7 separate regions of the Homo sapiens genome follow, and all the other regions are linked to region 6. Evidence: promoter capture Hi-C in 16 types of primary human blood cells and fetal thymus (Javierre and others, 2016). All regions are on one chromosome and are shown on one strand. Each heading gives the region's core, a stretch centred on a gene start or on the middle of the fragment in contact. The rest is flanking DNA. Distances are from core to core; before and after follow the strand shown. Region 1 holds the start of CAMTA1-DT (CAMTA1 divergent transcript). Region 2 overlaps RPL22 (ribosomal protein L22). Region 3 holds the start of THAP3 (THAP domain containing 3). Region 4 holds the start of HES2 (hes family bHLH transcription factor 2). Region 5 has its middle 2.3 kb from the start of DNAJC11. Region 6 holds the start of C1orf174 (chromosome 1 open reading frame 174). Region 7 overlaps LOC107984913 (a long non-coding RNA gene).

Region 1 (2,700 bases), core at 61-2,560, 2.9 Mb before region 6:
GATGCTGCGCAGGCCCCCTTCCCTTCCCGGGAAGCGAAGGGGGAGGGGTCACACGAGGCCCTTCGGCCGAGGGACGCTCGGCAGGACGGGGTCCCCCTGGCGGGGAGAAGCTCGGGGACCCCCCGCCCGCTCAGGGAGGTGTCCACGGGGCTGAAGAGGGTGCCGGAGAGAGTACATCTGGCCCTGCCCGCCGGAGAGCAGGGGGCCGGCGAGGGCTGAGCGCCGGCCGCTGCCGCCCGACGGGGACCGGCCCGGAGCAGTGGGGCGCGGGGCCAGGAGGACCCGAGGCGGATAAACTTTCCGCCCCGCGGCCCCCACCGTGGACCCAGCGCCGGGGGTGCGGGGGCCGCGCAGCGGGCTCGGGAGCGGCGGGGATGCCCGGTCCGGGTGGGGGAGGCGCCGGCCCTCCGCCGGCTCCTCCTCCTCGCTGGGCCCGGTCCCCGCCCCGCGAGCCCCCCGCCCCCTCCGGCCCCAGCCCGCCCCCGGGGGTGGGGTGTGGGGCGCCGCGCTCCGCCGGCCCCGCGAGTCACCTCAGGACTCGGCCGCGCTCCGCCCCCCCACCCCGCCGGCCCCCTCCCCGGCCGGGTCGCCCGCCCGCCCGCCCGCCGCGCCCCCGCGCTCCCGCCCGGCGCCGCCGATGCCCGGGATGTCCGGCGGGGCCGGGTCCCGCCGCCCGCCGCGCCGCCCCCCAGCCCCTCGCGCTCCGGCTCTTACCTTCCGGCTTGTTTTCGGCAGCCATTTCCCCTCCGCGCGCCACATCCTCCTCCTCCTCGCGACCGGGACCCCGAGCGCGCGCCTCGTACCGCCGCCGCCGCCGGCCCAGCCACCCCGCCGCCGCCGCGCACCCGCCCTGGCCCCGCCCCGCGGCCCACGCACAGCTCCCGTTGGGCCGTGCGGCTGCCACTCATCGCTCCCGCCGCCAATCGCCCCGCACCAGGGGTCTCACTACTCTCCGGGAGGAGCGTCCTATCCATCCGGCCCATTGGCTGGTCACCACCCAACGGACTGAAAGGATTGGTCAAGAATCAACGCCCCCTCCCCACCCACTCCCAGGAAAGCCCGCCTTCCGGACCTAAACAAAGCTTCCTAGTGGCCAGAACCCGAAAGAACTGTCCAATCAGGACGGGCCCGACACGGAATATTTCCTCGAGGCCGAGACGTGGCGTTTTGATTGGGCGTCACTACAGTGTTTCCCAGGCCGTCCAGACCAATCAAAGGGGGTTCCCGGAACTCGGGAGCGGCGAAGGGAAGCCCCGCCCCCGAGCGTGACCGTCATGAGGAAGGCGCTCCCTCATTGGCACGCTGGGGCTTTTCCCGCGTGCTCCCGGGGCTGAAGGACGTTCCCGGGGAAGCCGCTGCTGGCGCGTGGGGTCCCGGTGGCTGTGGGGGACGCGCCGGGATCTCCGGGATCCCGCAGCCCGCCGCCGCTGCCGGTGGGGAGCCGGACGCGGGGGGCCTCGGGGCTGAGGTCCGCAGGGGTGCCGCGCCCTGGAGTCCGACTGCCTAGGAGTCCGGGCGTCGCTGCCGGCCGTGGGGGAGGGGCGAGCCTCCCGCCAGGCCCCGCCCCCTCGGCGCCGCGTCCCCACGGCCCCGGCGCCGCCCGCCTGCGCCCGCCTCCTGTGCCCGCCCCCGGTGAGCTCCGTTGTCCCCTTTTCTGGCGGCTTAAAATACCGAAACTTTATTTTGGTCACGTTGCCCATGTGACCCGCGGAGCGGATGACTCATGGTTGCCTGTCCCAGGATGAGGCCGCCGGCCGAAAGCAGAGAAGCGCCAGCCCCGGCCGCCCGGGTGGAGCGCTGGGCAGCCGAGTTTCCCACCCTCCTCAATCCGGAGAGTCCGCGCGGGGCTTTTCCTAATAAATAGCCAGGCACCCGCTGCCCTCGCGCTGCGTACGGGAGCACGTGCCCCCCGGGAGGTGGGCGCCCGCCAGGTGCCCCGGGAACGAGCCTAGGAACCGGGTCCGCCGAGTGCGGCTCTCGGGGCGGCTAGGCGTGCGGGTGGCTGGGCAGCGCTCCCAGGGACCGGCCTCTCTCCGGAGAAAGTAAGGAATTCTGCTCCTGGGCAGGTAATACCGGAAACAAAAGGAGAGGCTGCAATCGCAAATTGTTTAAAAAGAAGAAAAAGGAAAGAAAAGTTGAATGTAAGAGCTCCAGCCCCTCAATGTGATCTTGTACGGTTTGCAGTAAGAACATTTCATTCTTCCGCATTTTATTTTTCCTTTTGCTACTGTTGGTGACAACTAGCAAAATAAGTGAAAAATCCTCGTTCAAGTGTTCTGGCATTAAGATTGACTGTCACACTGAATTCTGTGCCAATCCTAACAACATGTGTTCTTTTTCTGGTCTTCACAAGTAAGAATGTCTTAGGTTTTCCAGAAATAAAGATGTCCCAAAAGAATGTTTTGTGTTACACACTCATTCTTCAAGAAACTTTAATTTTATGAGCCTCAAAAATTGCAAAATTTTAACAACGGCGGGACAATATTTTATCGATTAGCATTCTTAATAGCACCTATGTTGACGATTTGTGTGGAGAAACGGATTCTTAAAAGAAGTGCTGGTGGCATTGTAAATTAGTATATTCCTTTCGAAAAGCAATTTTACAGTATGTATTAAAAGCCATAAAAATGTCTGCATCTTTTGACCCAGTGATCTTACTTCTGGGAATCTGTTCTAAGGAAATAACACTAAATGCCAGAA
Region 2 (2,731 bases), core at 179-2,678, 2.3 Mb before region 6:
GCAGAGATCGCACCATTGCACTCCATCCTGGGAGATAGTGCGAGACTCCGTCTCAAAAACAAAACAAAAAAAGTTACTGAGAAACAGACAAATTTCACTGGGTCCATGGCATCCCCCTTGCTGTTTGGTGTGTTTAAGCATAAGTGAGGGACCCTGATCCTGACTATGGGCTGCCTCTGTCCTGGGTCTCACTGCTTTGATGTGGAGCTTTGGACAGGTGGCAGCAGTTCCCGAAGCTTTTCTATATTATGAAGCATCTGAGCTTCAGTGTTTAAAGTACCCTGCTTGCTGAATTGTAATTGGAGCTTTTTTTTTTTTCTTCAGATCTTGCTCTGTGCTGATTTTTTGCCCCTGTATTTGGCCCATTCCCCAATATTCCTCTATCCTATTGCAATCTAGAAATATTAAATAATCCTTCCGCCACATTTTGACTCAGCAGTTTGGTTTTGACATTTTATTCTTTTTCCTCTAATAGCCATGTTTGGGGGATTCAGACTTCGTATTTGTGTGTAGAAGTCTCCTAAATTTGCATTTGCTCTAAATTCTCCAGAAGGTTGAACTATTGCCAGGATCAGTATCATTACAACAAAAATAATTTTTAAACACAAAATAATTATGGTCACGAATTATCCAGAATGGAATTTAGGTAACCTCTTATAGTTTATTGCCTTTATGTAGATGCTGTTTGCATCTGTGTCCTTCAAGAAATCCCCTATTTCCTTAGTTCTTTCTCTATCCAGTGACTTCTGGCTTTTCTGTGGCCTCCTCTTTTTCAACTTTGGTGTCTTCCAGTTTGGTATTCACATGGTGGCCCTGTTCTGGCATTATTCCTGCCTCCCTCCCTCTGAGCCATTCCCTCAGCCCACTCATCTGTTTGTGTGATTGTCTTTCCTTCTGGAAGCCTCCTTAGGATAGAAAACTTAAGTCATTTATGAATCTTGAGATGCAGAATTCAAGATTTCTGACCTAATCACTCTGTGCCCCATCTATGGTTAATGTATACTTTTTGTTTATTTTATTTTATTTACTTTGTTTTTTGAGACCAAGTTTTGCTCTTGTTGCCCAGGCTGGAGTGCAATGGTGCAGTCTCGGCTCACCACAATCTCCGTTTCCCTGGTTCAAGCCATTCTGGTGTCTCAGCCTCCCGAGTAGCTGGGATTATAGGCGCCTGCCACCACGCCTGGCTAATTTTTGTATTATTAGTAGAGATGGGGTTCCTCCATGTTGGTCAGGCTGGTCTCGAACCCCTGACTTTAGGTGATCCACCCACCTCGGCCTCCCAAAGTGCTGGGATTACAGGCATGAGCCACTGCGCCTGGCCATTTTATTTTATTTTTATTTATTTATTTTTGAGGTGGAATCTCACTCTGTCACCCAGGCTGGAGTGCAATGGTGTGATCTTGGCTCACTGCAACCTCCACCTTCCAGGTTTAAGTGATTCTCTTTCTCAGCCTCCCGAGTAGCTGAGATTACAGGCGTGTGCCACCATGCCCACCTAATTTGTGTATTTTTGTGGTAGAGACGGCGCTTCACCATGTTGGCCAGGTTGGTCTTGAACTCCTGACCTCAGGTGATTTGCCAGCCTCGGCCTCCCAAAGTATCGGGATTACAAGCATGAACCGCTGTGCCCAGCCAAATTTTTTTTTTTTTTTTTTGAGACGGAGTCTTGCTCTTTGTCACCCAGGCTGGAGTGCAGTGGTGTGATCTCGGCTCACTGCAAGCTCCGCCTCCCATGTTCATGCCATTCTCCTGCCTCAGCCTCCCGAATAGCTGGGACTACAGGTGTCTGTCACTATGCCCGGCTAATTTTTTGTATTTTTAGTAGAGACAGAGTTTCACCGTGTTAGCCAGGATGGTCTCAATCTCCTGCCTTTGTGATCCGCCTGCCTCGGGCTCCCAAAGTGTTGGGATTACAGGCGTGAGCCACCGCGCCTGGCCCCAAATTTTTATTTATTTATTTATTTTGAGACGGAGTCTTGCTCTGTTGCCCAGGCTGGAATGCAGTGGCACGATCTTGGCTCACTGTAAGCTCCGCCTACCGTGTTCATGCCATTCTCCTGCCTCAGCCTCCCAAGTAGCTGGGAAACAGGCGCCCGCCACCACGCCTGGCTAATTTTCTGTATTTTTAGTAGAAACAGGGTTTCACCATGTTAGCCAGGATGGTCTCGATCTCCTGACCTCGTGATCTGCCCACCTCAGTCTCCCAAATTTTTATTTTTTGAGAAAGGGTCTGTTGTCCAGGCTGGAGGGCAGTAGCATGATCCTGGCTCACTGCAGCCTCAACCTCATAGGCCCAAGTGATCCTCCCACCTCAGCCTCTGGAATAGCTGGCACCACAGGCATGCACCACCATACCTAGCTAATTTTTAAATTTTTTTGTAGAGGAAGGGTCTTCCTAAGTTGCCCAGGCTCGTCTTGAACTCCTGGGCTTGAGCAATCTTCCTGCCTTGGCTTCCCAAAGTGCCGGGATTACAGGTGTGAGCTACTGCACCCAGCCAGTTAACATATTTTGTATTGGAGTTTTTAAACAGAAAATTATAGGAATTTTGAGCTGAAAGGGACTTCATGTCATTGCCATAGCAAGAAAACAACTAAAAAGGTCCTTTTTGGGCAAAGCTTTCTGAAGCACAAGGAGGTGAATGTCTTGCTGAGGCCCACACAGTAGTTTGCAGAGAATATCTCAGGCTCCTGAGTGGCTGCTGCTTCTGCTGTACCACACATGGCCCTGGAC
Region 3 (2,700 bases), core at 50-2,549, 2.7 Mb before region 6:
GGCTAATTTTTTTAAATTATTTGTAGAGGTAGGGTCTCCTTCTGTTGCCCAGGCAGGTCTCGAACTCCCAGGCTCAAGCGATCCTCCCGCCTCGGCCTCCCAAAGTGCTGGGATGACAGGCTTGAGCCACCGCGCCCAGCTGGTAACGTTTCAGTTCAGTGACGTTCACTTGGGGAAAACTCGCTGGGCTGTATACTTATGATTCGTGCATTTTTCTGCATGTACATTACGTATACTTCAAGCAAAGCATTTATCACAAAACAGAACAATGGGAGCAGAGGGAATGGGAACGATGAGCACAAGCCCCCCTTCGGAATGTGCCCAAAAGTGGGTAGAGAAATGGTGCCGTGACTGGACCTTGGAGAAAGCGCAACTGTGACTAATGACGATTGCTCCTGGGCCGGGCCGGGCCGGGCCGGGCGAGTGCTGGAGCAGACTCCAAAGTCTCCAGCGTCCTCCCGCGACCCTGCAGAGTCCCTTCCCACTGCCAGGACGCCCCTGGGGGTTCCACTCCTCCACTGCACTGCCCAGGTGCCGGGCTCCCTTCAGGACCGCGCGCGGCGGGGGCTGCAGCGACCAGGGACACAGCAAACCCCGGCCGCGGCCCGCTAGTCTGTTCAGCAAACACCTGCTCCGCTCCCTGCACGTCCCGGCCCTGGCCCCGCCAGGTGCGCCGCTGCCCCTCCGTCCGCCACTCCCCGCATCCCCGCGGCGGGCGCGGCGGCGCCAGCCCCTCTGGGCCCAGGACCTCGGCCTGTCCCCGGGCCCAGCGGCCGCACGCCTTTGGGCCTCCCGCCCGGCGCGCCAAGGCCTCGGAGTCGGTCCGCGGGCCCCGGGTCTGGGCCTCCCGCGCCCCCGGGTCCCCGCCTCTTACCGGTGGAAGGTGAGCTGCTTCCTGCGGCTGCTGTAGCGGTTGCAGCACTGCCGGGCCGCGCACGACTTCGGCATCTCGAGCCAGGCCTGGCTGCCCCCAACAAAGATGGCGGCGGCGGCGGGGCCTGCGGAGAGGGGAGGGACCTGCGGGGAGGGGCGGGGCCGCTGGGAGGTGGTGACGGGCCTGGCTCGCCTCCAGGGCGCGCTCATCCTGCCATCCCAGCCACCCGCGTCTCCCCAGGGTCGGACGGGACCCGGGGCGCCACGTAAAGGGGTGCTCCGGGCCCCAATTCAGGCCCGAAACCCCAACTCCTAGCCTTGGGCCTGTGCAAGTCTTACCCCATTCGCCAATGCTGGTCGCCTTTCACCTCCTTGCTTTGAGCACCCAACCAGGACGCATAGCCACTCACAGGCTTGGACAACTGGAAACCAACGGCCAACCCCTCAGTGTTTTTAGGGCTTTGAATTGTGAATAGGTCTGGACTCCTCTGACGTCACTGGAGGTGGTACTAGTTGGCCACTGGTGGTGTCAGTTCAGAGGCCAGACAGCTCACTGCCCTTAAGTTTGGTCACAGGGAACCCCCAAACGTGAAGAGGCAAAAAGGGCAACTGAAGGGGAGGGAGATTCCAGTTCAGGCCTTGCAGAAACTCCGAGGCTGCAGCTTTCTCAAAGCAGCCTATAGGGAAGGCGTCATCTTGTAAGAAGAAAAAAAAAAAAATCGGCCAGGCGCAGTGGCTCACGCCTGTAATCCCAGCACTTTGGGAGGCCGAGGCAGGCGGATCACCTGAGATCAGGAGTTCAAGGCCAGCCTGACCGACATGGTGAAACCCCATCTCTACTAAAAATACAAAAATTAGCCGCACATGGTGGCGGGCACCTGTAATTCCAGCTACTCGGAAGGCTGAAGCAGGAGAATCTCTTGAACCCGGGAGGTGGAAGTTACAATGAGCCAAAATCTCATCACAGCACTTCACAGCCTAGGTGACAAGAACGAAACTCAAGTCTCAAAAACAAAAAAAAAATCAAAAGTAGGCTAACCACTCACTGGGGCTTGAGCTAATCCTCAATCTGATGAAGAAACTGCAAAAACCATTCACATCTACTCGTCCTGTGGTTTGTTTCTAAGGAATTCACCAGCAAGGTACCTTAACACCGTGGGCATTTTCCATCCTGCTAAGTGCACACTGAGACGCTGCCTTCCCAGAGACTTGATGTAATCATGCTTTGGGGAGGTAGCAAGGAGAAAAGAAACACAATTGTCCTTCAGCACAGAACGCAATCGCCTGAACCTTGAATCATGAACCTCAAAGTAGCAATATATTTATTTACAAAATATACAGTTTCACAGAAACAGCTTCGCTTTATACACATAAACTTTAAAATTACACAGAACCATGTAAACGATGTGAAGTGTCTGGCCTGGCCAAAGCCAATGGGAGGGCCTACTTTTGGGGTGACATCCCTCCCTCCCCTCACTTCATTAGCCACCAACCAGGAACCACAGATGGGTCGTGCCTAATTTGCATATAAAGAAGCTGATTGCAGCTGCCCAGCTCAATCTAACACAAAAACCAAGGTGTCCGACTTCTTAGACACCACCCACAGGGACAGATCTGCTAAAAGAACAAAAATGCAATCAAGGAAACAAAATGGAGATGAGTATCACATGCATTCCAGAGGCATCGAACCTTCTAGCACACGTGACAGTTGCCAGGGCCGGCAGTTCCATTCTAAAGTCACATGGATTCTTAAATGCACCTTTAAAAGCTTGTGGAATTTTTTTTTTTCAAAGCAGAAAAACACTTTGGAGCGCTGGTTATTCACGT
Region 4 (2,700 bases), core at 154-2,653, 2.5 Mb before region 6:
CAGATGCTGCAGGCGGACTTGTGGGTGCAGACCTGAGTCAGCCAAGCTAAGTCGCTTGGCCTGGGGATGAGAGGGAAAAGATCCACAGAGTTTTTTGAGCTCTTAAAGAACAATTAATTGTCTTAGGGGAGGCCTATGGAGTCAAACTGGCCTCAACCACGGAGAACAAGGTCTCAGGTTCCTCCAAGCCCTGCTGGGCCAAATCTGTTGAAGGATTTATTCTTACTTGTTAGGTCTTTTATGAGGGTTAATGCAGGTTAGCGAGCCTTAAAGCGTTAAGCCCTGAGCTTGGCACACAGTAAGTGTCCATGAAAGGTGGCCTACATTCCTTCCCATGCCACAGATAGGTATGGGTGGCCTGGGCTCCCCTGGCCCAGGCTTCTCCGGGCCCCTCAGTGTGTTCGCTGGCCTTCTTCCACCCTGCGGCGAGAACCCTGAAGGAGGGAGACGTGGGGCTAGCGGCAGGGGTGGAGCTCGGAAGTGGGGTTCGGGGGACAGGGGGTTCATCCAACACCCTGGACAGAGCCCTCCTTGGCCCCGCCCCATAGGGGAACTCCTCCTGGCTGGCTCTGTGGATCCCTCCAGTCATCTCTCTGCCCGGCAGTTCGCAGTGTGGTTCGCGGGCGTGGCCGTTGCCCCGCCAGCCGGTCGGGGGAGGGGAGCCCGGAGCAGATGGGCGGGGGACGCCAGCCAGTTTGCCGCAGCAACGGCCACGCGGCGCGAAGGCGGTCCTGGGCGGGCCACTGGGGCCCGCACCCAAAACTGTCCTGCCCGCGCGTCACATGAGCCCTGACTGTCTTGCGGGCGAGAACCCGGACCCCTAGCCGGTGGGAATGAAAACGAGCTCCGAGGGCTCCAGGGCTGCCTCTGCTTCTCTAGGATTCCGTTTCCCCACCCAAAGCCTGGAGTGGGGTAACCAAAAGACTCTTAACTAGGCAAGCCGCCGAAGGGTTCTACGGGCTCCTTAGAGCCGGGCGTCCAGCGACTGGGGCCCTTGTCCAGGCTCGGCCTGTTCCCAGCGTCGAGGACTGGAGCAAGTCACGACCTTTCTCCGGAACTCGGATTTCCCGTCCAGCTCAGCCCTTCACCCGATAAAGCAGCTGGGGGTGCAAGTCCCTCCCGCTGCTGTCCCTCATGGGAGCTCCCGTAACCGCTGGGTCCCCTGCTGCGGCCCAGGGCGGGGCTCAGAGAAGACGCTGAACCCGAGCCTGGGGAATGAATGAAGGGCAGCATTGGAGAGGAGGGACCGTAGCTCCAGTCAGGCAAGGCCTGGCCCCACCTGGCCCTCCTGCCCTCGGGGTCACGCAGCGAAGGCCCCCGATGGCGCCTTTACCACTCTCCCGCAGGTGCTCGGGGAAAACTGGGGGCCGCCACCCCGCGGTAGACAGGACGCAAAGGCGGGGAGCGGGATCCCCGGGGGCGTCGCGGTCTCCCCTCCCGGCTCCACCCTGCGCAGGAACAAAGGCAGGAGGTGGGACCAGCGGGCGGCCGGACTCCGCGGGGCGGGGCGGGGCGGGCGAGCCGCTCCCTTAAAGCTCGGCCGCGGGCGGGGCGCGCACTCGTCTGGCACCAGCCCGGGCCGCGCCCGGGACCTCATTTCGGACCTCGGTTTCCCTTTGCGTGGGGCTCGCAGCTGCCACCGCTTCCCCGCGGAGCATGGGGCTGCCTCGCCGGGCAGGGGACGCGGCGGAGCTGCGCAAGGTGGGTACCGGGGACTGGGGGCGGGGCTGGGGACTCCGGGGACCCGTCTAACCACCGCGCCGCCCGTCCGCAGAGCCTGAAGCCGCTGCTGGAGAAGCGCCGGCGCGCGCGCATCAACCAGAGCCTGAGCCAGCTTAAGGGGCTCATCCTGCCGCTGCTGGGCCGGGAGGTGAGCGCGCCCGGGCGGAGGGCAGAGGGTCCTGGGGCGCGGAGCGGGGGCAGGGGGACGGGGTGCTCCTGCGGGAGGAACCCACCAGGGGGTTCCGCGCGGCGCCCGAGGCGGAGCCTGGGTGGGGTGGGCGCGTCGGAGCGGACCCCCAGCAGGCCACGGCGCGCCCCACACCCAGCTCCCGACTAGAGCGAGGGTGCGCACGGTAGCCGGCCAAAGTTCTGTCTTGGTGGTTCTCTGTCGCTCTTCCTCGTGGCCGGGCGCAGAACTCCAACTGCTCGAAGCTAGAGAAGGCAGACGTCCTGGAAATGACCGTGCGCTTCCTGCAGGAGCTGCCTGCGTCCTCATGGCCCACGGCAGCGCCCCGTGAGTGAGCCCTCCCTGCCCTGCCGCGCGCTCTGCACCCCGCACCCGGCACCCTACCCCGCGCCTCACGCGGCTCTCCGCCCGCAGTGCCTTGCGACAGCTACCGCGAGGGCTACAGCGCCTGTGTGGCGCGCCTGGCCCGCGTGCTGCCCGCCTGCCGTGTCCTGGAGCCCGCCGTGAGCGCGCGCCTGCTGGAGCACCTGTGGCGGAGAGCGGCCAGCGCCACCCTGGACGGCGGGCGCGCTGGGGATTCCAGTGGCCCGTCTGCCCCCGCCCCAGCGCCCGCGTCTGCCCCAGAGCCCGCATCCGCTCCGGTGCCCTCGCCGCCCTCGCCTCCCTGCGGCCCTGGCCTCTGGCGGCCGTGGTAGCCCCTCGGCCGATCCACAGACCCTGCCGACTGCTTGGGACCTTGGGGCACTGGACAGGTTGAAGCTCTTGGTGGCGGCTGCTGTTCCCATCATTAG
Region 5 (2,700 bases), core at 139-2,638, 2.8 Mb before region 6:
TGGGTGGCCAAGGTGATCAGATCACTTGAGGTCAGGAGTTCAAGACCAGCCTGTCCAACATGGCAAAACCCTGTCTTTACTAAAAATACAAAAATTAGCTGGGCGTGGTGGCACATGCCTGTAATCCCATCTACTCGGGAGGCTGAGGTATGAGAATCACTTGAACCCAGGAGGTGGAGGTTGTGGTGAGCAGAGATCATGTCACTGCACTCCAGCCTGGGCAACAGAGTGAGACTCTGTCTCAAAAGAATAAATAAAATAAAGATGAGAGAATTTGTTAGCAGTTGCATAAATGCGTATATCTCATATAATATTTGCGTAAATATAAAATACATATGCCCATGTATGTATAGTTACATAAATATATTACATCAGTTTATATTTAAATGTCACCTATTAAGTTTTGCTTTACAGCTATGTTACAGACTGTTTTGTGGTTTCACCCAACAAAAAGAAACCAAAAGGCCAGGCACGGTGGCTCACACCTGTCATCTCAGCACTTTGAGAGGCTGAGGCGGGCAGATCACTTGAGACGGGAGTTCCAGACCAGCCCTGCAATGTAGCAAGACCCTGTCTCTACAAAAAATACAAAGCTTAACCAGGTATGGTGGCGGGCACCTGTAGTCCTAGCTACTATGGAGGCTGAGGTGGGAGAATTACCTAAGCTTGAAGAGGTGGAGGCTGCAGCAAGCCATGATTGCACCACTGTACTGCAGCCTGGGTGACAGAGGGAGACCCCGTCTCAAAAAAAAAAAAAAGAAAGAGAAAAGAAAAAGAAAACAAAGTGCAAGGCATGAGTTAAAGCAGCTGGGTTTTGTCAGTTGCTCGGCGTAAGTAGTTTGTTGGATGTGCGTTTTTAACTTATAAATTTGTACTGCCTTTGGTTTCCATTATTTTGCCCGTTGAAGATTAGGGTTTTGGAGGAGAGAAACGAGAGAGCCAGCCTCAGAAACAGATACATTCCTCAAGCCTGTGGAGCATCTAAGTTAGCTTTCTATTTATCACCACCACTTTCCAAGTAACCATAACACAAAATCTCGTGGGCCCAAGAGAGGACAGCCACAGAGCATTCCTGAGTCACTATTTATCTTGTTTGAGTGGTGATAAAAACCAGGTCATTCTCAATCATAGAAACACAGACCTGGGCGTAGTGAAACATATGTTATGTTCCATTTATATAATTCCTAGAGGCTGTGTTTTCCAAAGCAGAGGAGGGATGGCAAAGAACTTCTCTACCCAAGTAAGCATTATGGCCCAATTAATGTCTACAAACCTAAGGAGGCCGGGCGCGGTGGCTCACGCCTGTAATCCCAGCACTTTGGGAGGCCGAGGCAGGTGGATTACTAGGTCAGGAGACCAAGACCATCCTGGCTAACATGGTGAAACCCCATCTCTATTAAAAATACAAAAAAAAAAAATTAGCCAGGCGTGGTGGCAGGCGCCTGTAGTCCCAGCTACTCAGTAGGCTGAGGCAGGAGAATGGCATGAACCCGGGAGGTGGAGCTTGCAGTGAGCCGAGATCGTGCCACTGCACTCCAGCCTGGGCGACAGAGCGAGACTCCATCTCAAAAAAAAAAGAAAAAAGAAAAAAGAAAAAAAAACCTAAGGGAAAAAGGAATGTCTCCACATTGTTGTTTTTACCCCCAGTCTCTCTGTATGAAATTCTTGGCCGGGTGCGGTGGCTCACGCCTGTAATCCCAGCACTTTGGGAGGCCGAGGCAGGTGGATCACGAGGTCAGGAGTTCGAGACCAGCCTGGCCAATATGGTGAAACCCCGTCTCTACTAAAAATACAAAAATTAGCTGGGCGTGATGGCGCACGCCTGTAGTCCCAGCTGCTTGGGAGGCTGAGGCAGGAGAATCGCTTGAACCCGGGAGGCGGAGGTTGCAGTGAGCCAAGATCGTGGCACTGCACTCCAGCCTGGGCGACCGAGTGAGACTCTGTCTCAAACAAAAAAAAAAAAAAAGAAAGAAATTCTTAAAGACTGTCAAATGTCAGCATGCAGTTTGGCCCTAACCACAGCTCTTTTCTCTGCAAAGGAGAAAAAGGCAAAGCCCATAACATTGCTGGAAGAGCTGATGGACCATGGAAGCTGTTGTGGAGAAGCTTCACACAACTAAAGAAATAGCCCTTAATTTACAACCTGGGCTGACAGTTTGTTTCAGGCTGACTCAACCCACCCGAACAATCTGTCTCAGCACACCGAAGTGTCTCATGCCAAAAGATCCTAAGAGGGCTGGGCAACTTGGAAGGGATGAGACACAGGCCCAGATGGTGCACATCTGGCCAAAAATTAGAAAGAGAAAGAAATCAGCCTCTCAAATCCACAGACAGGTGTTCGGGGCTTCCCAGGAGACCTGCTTATGAAGGGCAACGGGGATGGCTATGGACTGGTGGTTAGTGAAGGAACAACAAAGGTTTCTGAGACTTGCGCAGGTCAGCGGGAACCAAACAGGTGGCAAGAGTGGGCTGCTGTCCACCTTCCCTTGACAATGGCGTCATTTCGAAGACCTTTAAATTATTTAGATTGTTGTAACCAAGACATCTTTAATAATGCACCAAACAGCAGGCACCAGGTTGAAATCAATTAGACTCCACCGATAAATTATAAGGGAGAAATTTACAGGAGAATGGCTCTGGGGTAGGGACTGCAGGTACACATGCCTGCCAGAGACAATTATATCAGGAACCAAATAGTTA
Region 6 (2,700 bases), core at 17-2,516:
ACAAACACCTCCCTCAGCGGCGGCCAAAGAGGACGCATCACAGCAGCCCAGGCCTGCTAGGGGCGTGTTTGCTGGAGGAGGCGTGGCCGCCGTGTGTCCATCCAGACCTGATAGGGCGCGGCCATTGGAGGAGGCGTGGCCGCTGCGGGTCCACCCAGGCCTGCTAGGGGCGTGGCCATTGGAAAAGGCGTGGCCCCTGCGAGTCCACGTTGGCCCCGGAGAGTAACGGGACGGCGGAGGGGTCATTTCCCGCCTTGCACGTAACGGGGGACGAAAACCGGCCCCCAGCCCGACGCCGGACCCTGGCCTCCTGGGCCCACCGACGGCCTCCACTAAGGCCCCCTCCCGCCCGCAACGTGGGGGACAGCTGAGGCCACTTCCCGGGCGGGCCACCCCAACCCAAAGCGGCATGTCGCGGGGCAGCACAGCCTGCGACAAGCGCGCAAAGCTCCCCAGCGGGACCGCAGCACGGGCAGGCCTGGGAGTCCCTCGCGCTGCTCAAGGCCGCTAACCGGCACTCAGAAACCAGCGCTCTGCGGCACTGGAGAAAGCACTTCCCGCCCTCCTGCAGGCTGTTAGCCAGGGGATGCAAGGGGAGGGGCCCCTCACGGACGTCCCGCCCGCCCCTCTCAAACATGGCGGCCACAGGCGCACCAAAGGAAGAGCCCCTCACAAACATGGCCGTCCGCCCCTCTCATACATGGCGCCAAAGAGGCTTCAAGGGAAGCGCCCCTCACGAACATGGTTGCCTGCCCCTCTCAAACATAGCGGCCACAGGCGCACCAAGAGAAGCGCCCCTTACAAACATGGCCGTCTGCCCCTCTCAAACATGGTGGCCAAAGAGGCTTCAAGGGAAGAGCCCCTCAAGAACATGGTTGCTCCCCCCTCAAGAACATAGTTGCCCACCTCGCTCAAACATGGCGGCCACAGGTGCACCAAGGGAAGCGCCGTTCACGAACATGGCCGTCTGCCCCTTTCAAATATGGCGAACACAGAAGCTACAAAAAAAGCACCCCCCGCAAACATAATCTCTCAGGCCTGCCACGGGCGTGGGAAACATAGCGGCTACAGGGGTGCCAAGGGACGCGCCCTCATGAACATGGCCGGCCACAGGCCGACTTCCTGCTCCAGTGTCCCACCACTGGCCCAAGGCCTGTGACCTTCGCCCGCCGCTTACGAAAGAGCCAACACGGGGGGGGGGGGGGGGGGAATCACATGACGAGGGTGCTGCACTGTGATTGGCTGTGCTGACGTCGGACGCCGCCGCGGCGCGCTCTGCAGACTCCGGGTCGCCGCTCCGCCGGGACGCGTTGGCCGGGGCGCGCGGTGCTTGGCTGCGGTGCTCACACTCATGAGGAGCCGGAAGGTGAGGGCTGGGTCCCGGCAGCAGCTGCGCCGGGCAGGGCGGGGACTCTGGGTCACCTGCTGTCTGGAGAACCGGGGCGGGGTCACGGGGTGCCTGTGGCCTAGGAGCGGCCTCCGCTTGGGCCTCGCCCCCGGCAGTAGTTGGGGGGCTCCAGGCCACGCTCCCGGGAGAAGGAGGGCTGCCAGGTCACGCCCCTGTGAAAAGGGGGCTCCGGGCCACGCCCTCGGAAGAAGTGGAGCTCACAGGTCACGTCCCCGGGAGAAGGGGGCTCCCAGGTTACCCACCCCCGCAGAATGGGGCCTCTGGGCCACACCCCCGAGAGAAGGGGAGCTCCCAGGCCATGCCCGCGGGAGAAGGGGGGCTCCGGTCCACGCCCTCGGGAGAAGTGGAGCTCACAGTTCACGTCCTGGGCAACAGGGGGCTCCCAGGTCACGCCCCCTTGAAGGGAGGTTTCGGGCCACTTTCCTAGGAAGGTGGGGCACCCTCTCCAGAACTGGTTTCAACTCCTGGTAGTGCTAGATGCTGCAGAGCTGAGTTTGTGCCCCTCAACTGCTGCCACTCCAATGGACGTCACACAGCAAGTGACCTCAGCTTGGCCCCATCTACTGAATGTGCTAAAAGTGGGGTGATGAGGGATCCACCAAGAGGGTGGTGAGGATTGAAGGGGGGTGCCAGTGTCTGGCAAGGGGCAAGTGCTCATTGCGTGGGTGTAACAGTTAAGGCGAAGGACCCTTTTCACAGTGGACCCGGCGCGGGTCCCGGTCCACTTGGGAGGCTCTGAGCTGCATGGAGGCTCTCCTGGTTTGTTCAAATGGAGTGGCCACTTGTGAATTCCAACTCCTTTTACTATTTTTATCTTTGAACCAAAACTTGTCTCCTGTAGGCACATATACTTGGATCTTTTTTAAAATGCAGTCTGGTAGTTTCTGCCTTTTGATTGAATTGTTTAGCCCATGCACATTTAATATTATTGATACACTGTAGTTAGGTTTACATTTGCCATTTTACTTTTTCTTTTCTTTATACAAGTCTGTCTTTTTCTTCCCCTGTTCCTTCTTTAAGTGGATTAAAGTGAATATTTCCTAATGTAGCATTTTAATTTAATGATTTTTTTTCCACAACTTTTTTGGGTTTTTTCCAGTGCTTTATGTTTTACCGTATACAGCTTAATCTTCATATTCTCCATATACATCTTAAGCTTCAGATTTGTACTAGGTTAATTCCAAGTGATACAGAAATGTTACTCTTATATGGTTATTTTTGTGGTATTTTGTTATATGTATTACATCTGATAATGTTACAAACTCAACAGTACTGTGTTATCATTATTACTT
Region 7 (2,700 bases), core at 82-2,581, 2.7 Mb before region 6:
TTAGTAGAGACAGAGTTTCACCATGTTGGCCAGGCTAGTCTCAAACTCCTGACCTCAGGTGATCTGACTGCCTCGGCCTCCCAAAGTGCTGGGATTACAGGCCTGAGCCACTGCGCCCAGCCTTTTTTTTTTTTTTTTTTTTTAGCCCGGAGTGCAGTGGTTCGAACACGGCTCACTATAGTCACTGCACCCTAGGCCTCCTGGGCTCAGGTGATCCCCCTGCCTCAGCCTTCCTAGTAGCTGGGACTACAGGCATGCACCAGCATATCCAGCTTATTTTGTTTTTTGTTTTTGTTTTTTGTTTTTTTGAGGCGGAGTCTTGCTGTGTCGCCCAGGCTGGAGTGCAGTGGCACGATCTCGGCTCACTGCAAGCTCCGCCTTCTGGGTTCATGCCATTGTCCTGCCTCAGCCTCCCGACTAGCTGGGACCACAGGCGCCCGCCACCACGCCCGGCTAATTTTTTATTTTTTTAGAAAGATGGGGTTTCACTGCGTTAGCCAGGATGGTCTTGATCTCCTGACCTCGTGATCTGCCCTCCTCGGCCTCCCAAAGTGCTGGTTGTTTTTGTATTTTTTGTAGAGAAGGGATTTCACCACATGGCCCAGGCTGATCTTGAACTCCTGGTCTCAAACGATCTCCCCACCTCGGCCTCCCAGAGTGCTGGGATTATGGGCATGAGCCACCACGCCCAGCCCAGTATATTCTTAGGAATTCTTTTTACCCTCTGTTTTCTGCCTTGCTCACTTCCGTTTCCAGGAGATGGGAAAAAAGTGAAAATTCCACAAAATCTTCTTTTCAGCTTTTAGTAACTTGAAAACTGTATGAATATGTGTGTGAATCATTTGAAATCATTAATAATTTATAGACCATATATTGTCAGTGTTTCACACAGTGAATCTGACCTACAGATAGAAGAATCAAATGAGTTTCTTGAGTTCATACTGGTAGAATACAAAGGTAATAGCTAAGCTGGACATGGTGGCTTACACCTGTAACCCCAGCACTTTGGGAGGTCGAGGCAGGTGGATCACGAGGTCAGGAGTTAGAGACCAGCCTTGCCAACACAGTGACACATCGTCTCTACTAAATATAAAAATTAGCTGGGCATGGTGGCGCACACCTGTAGTCCCAGCTACTTGGGAGGCTGAGGTAGAAGAATCGCTTGAACCTGGGAGGCAGAGGTTGTGGTGAGCCGAAATTGCGCCACTGCACTCCAGCCTGGGCAACAGAGCAAGACTCTGTCTCCAAAAAAGAAAAAAGAAAGTTAATAGCTAAAGGCTGGGGTGCTGTGGCTCACGCCTGTAATCACAGAACACTGGGAGGCCAAGGGAGATGGATCATTTGAGGTCAGGAGTTGGAGACTAGCGTGGCCAACATGGCAAAACCACATCTCTACCAAAAAAATACAAAAATTAGCCAGGCATGGTGACAGGTGCCTGTAATCCCACCTACTCTCCTGAGGCAGGAGAATGGCTTGAACACGGGAGGTGGAGGTTGCAGTGAGCCGAGATCATGCTACTGCACTCCAGTCTGGGGAATAGAGCAAGACTCTGTTTCAAAAAAAAAAGATAATAACTAATACTATATGTCAAACACTGTTTAAATGTTTTTACTTACCCTATCTCATTTACATATGTAAATGCATTTAATAAATAGAGAATAGCGCAACATTCCTTAAAGAAAAAATGTTTAGATTGGGCACAATGGCTCATGCCTGTAATCCCAGCGGAAGCTGAGGTAGGCAGATCACCTGAGGTCAGGAGTTCAAGACCAGCCTGGCCAACATGGTGAAATGCCATCTCTACAAAAAATAGAAAAATTAGCCAGGTGTTGTGGTGCGTGCCTGTGATCCTAGCTACTCGAGAGGCTGAGGCAGGAGAATCACTGGAACTCAGGAGGCGGAGGTTGCAGTGAGCTGAGGTTGCGCCACTGTACTCCAACCTAGGCGACACAGGGAGACTTCGTCTCAAAAGAAAAAAAAAAAGGAGTTATATATGGTAAGTGCATTATACCTTAGAAAACCTGGAATCTGAAAAAATCAGAGTGTATGATATGATACAAGAAAAGGCACAATAGCTGTGGACGTAATCAAGGCTAAGGAGTGTGTTCCTAAATATTCTTAAAGAAAAAAAAAGAATAACAGCTGCTCTTTTTTTTTTTTTTTTGAGACGGAGTCTTGCTCTGTCCTCCATGCTTGAGTCCCATGATCTCAGCTCATTGTGACCTCCGCCTCCTGGGTTAAAGCGATTCTCCTGCCTCAGCCTCTGGAGTAGCTGGGATTATAGATGTGCACCACCGCGCTTGGCTAATTTTTGTATTTTTAGTAGAGATGGAGTTTCACCACGTTGGCCAGGCTGTAAACAGCCACTTTTAAAATGACCTTAGGGTCTGGCATGGTGGCTGATGCCTGTAATCTCAGCACTTTGGCTCAGCACCAAGACTGGAGGATTGCTTGAGTCCAGGAGTTTAAGACCAACCTGGGTAACACAGCGAAACCCCGTCTCTACAAAAAATTTAAAAAATTAACCAAGCGTGTTGGCTCACGCCTGTAGTCCCAGCTCCTGGGGAGGCTGAGGTAGGAGGATCACCTGAGCCTGGGAGGCAGAGGTTGCAGTTAGCTGAGATTGTGCCACTGCACTCCAGCCTGGGCAACAGAGGGAGATCCTGTCTCAATAAAAAAGGTAACATGGCCAGACCAGG

The links. The method cuts DNA at HindIII sites, captures the fragments that hold promoters and counts their contacts. A CHiCAGO score of 5 or more calls a contact.
Region 1: a contact is called between the fragment with the promoter of CAMTA1-DT here and the fragment with the promoter of C1orf174 in region 6, in 11 of 17 cell types (naive CD4 T cells, naive CD8 T cells, non-activated CD4 T cells and 8 more). The highest score is 23.1, in naive CD4 T cells.
Region 2: a contact is called between a fragment that was not itself captured here and the fragment with the promoter of C1orf174 in region 6, in 3 of 17 cell types (activated CD4 T cells, total CD8 T cells and naive CD4 T cells). The highest score is 8.7, in activated CD4 T cells.
Region 3: the fragment with the promoter of THAP3 here is called in contact with the fragment with the promoter of C1orf174 in region 6 in 3 of 17 cell types (neutrophils, total CD4 T cells and naive CD4 T cells); the score reaches 14.0 in neutrophils.
Region 4: a contact is called between a fragment that was not itself captured here and the fragment with the promoter of C1orf174 in region 6, in 1 of 17 cell types (non-activated CD4 T cells). The highest score is 5.3, in non-activated CD4 T cells.
Region 5: a contact is called between a fragment that was not itself captured here and the fragment with the promoter of C1orf174 in region 6, in 1 of 17 cell types (naive CD4 T cells). The highest score is 8.0, in naive CD4 T cells.
Region 7: a fragment that was not itself captured here is called in contact with the fragment with the promoter of C1orf174 in region 6 in 1 of 17 cell types (neutrophils); the score reaches 7.5 in neutrophils.

What each region holds. Positions count from the first base shown.
Region 1 is chr1:6,783,590-6,786,289 of GRCh38, reverse strand. CAMTA1-DT (CAMTA1 divergent transcript) reads left to right here and starts at 1,310. Exons shown (of 3, transcript NR_149049.1): 1 at 1,310-1,632; 2 at 2,067-2,141; 3 at 2,245-2,398. It overlaps CAMTA1 (calmodulin binding transcription activator 1), which reads right to left and starts at 836. Exons shown (of 23, transcript NM_015215.4): 1 at 715-836. The coding sequence starts at 759. RefSeq lists silencers at 84-263, 274-543, 754-913, 1,254-1,663, 1,794-1,853 and 1 more and enhancers at 1,119-1,793, 1,794-2,470. The HindIII fragment of the contact is 4,377 bases long and covers 1,085-2,700 here.
Region 2 is chr1:6,194,371-6,197,101 of GRCh38, reverse strand. The region is part of intron 2 of RPL22 (ribosomal protein L22); the gene reads left to right. Among named protein-coding and RNA genes, the nearest start is that of RPL22, 3.9 kb to the left of the region's middle. The HindIII fragment of the contact is 2,380 bases long and covers 239-2,618 here.
Region 3 is chr1:6,623,467-6,626,166 of GRCh38, reverse strand. It overlaps THAP3 (THAP domain containing 3), which reads right to left and starts at 1,299. Exons shown (of 6, transcript NM_001195753.2): 1 at 1,213-1,299; 2 at 875-1,017. The coding sequence starts at 948. PHF13 (PHD finger protein 13) reads right to left here. Exons shown (of 4, transcript NM_153812.3): 4 at 2,137-2,700. RefSeq lists a silencer at 499-908. The HindIII fragment of the contact is 4,820 bases long and covers 1-2,643 here.
Region 4 is chr1:6,418,777-6,421,476 of GRCh38, reverse strand. It overlaps HES2 (hes family bHLH transcription factor 2), which reads left to right and starts at 1,558. Exons shown (of 4, transcript NM_019089.5): 1 at 1,558-1,701; 2 at 1,775-1,870; 3 at 2,137-2,236; 4 at 2,324-2,700. The coding sequence starts at 1,657. The coding sequence ends at 2,604. The HindIII fragment of the contact is 3,974 bases long and covers 1-2,700 here.
Region 5 is chr1:6,702,736-6,705,435 of GRCh38, reverse strand. No RefSeq gene overlaps it. Among named protein-coding and RNA genes, the nearest start is that of DNAJC11, 2.3 kb to the right of the region's middle. The HindIII fragment of the contact is 1,441 bases long and covers 668-2,108 here.
Region 6 is chr1:3,898,838-3,901,537 of GRCh38, reverse strand. C1orf174 (chromosome 1 open reading frame 174) reads left to right here and starts at 1,266. Exons shown (of 4, transcript NM_207356.3): 1 at 1,266-1,366. The coding sequence starts at 1,352. It overlaps LINC01134 (long intergenic non-protein coding RNA 1134), which reads right to left and starts at 1,134. Exons shown (of 4, transcript NR_024455.1): 1 at 907-1,134. RefSeq lists silencers at 186-365, 1,446-1,515 and enhancers at 566-825, 465-1,034, 1,035-1,603, 1,604-2,174. The HindIII fragment of the contact is 4,148 bases long and covers 1-2,566 here.
Region 7 is chr1:6,606,131-6,608,830 of GRCh38, reverse strand. The region is part of intron 1 of LOC107984913 (a long non-coding RNA gene); the gene reads left to right. Among named protein-coding and RNA genes, the nearest start is that of KLHL21, 4.6 kb to the right of the region's middle. The HindIII fragment of the contact is 3,900 bases long and covers 1-2,700 here.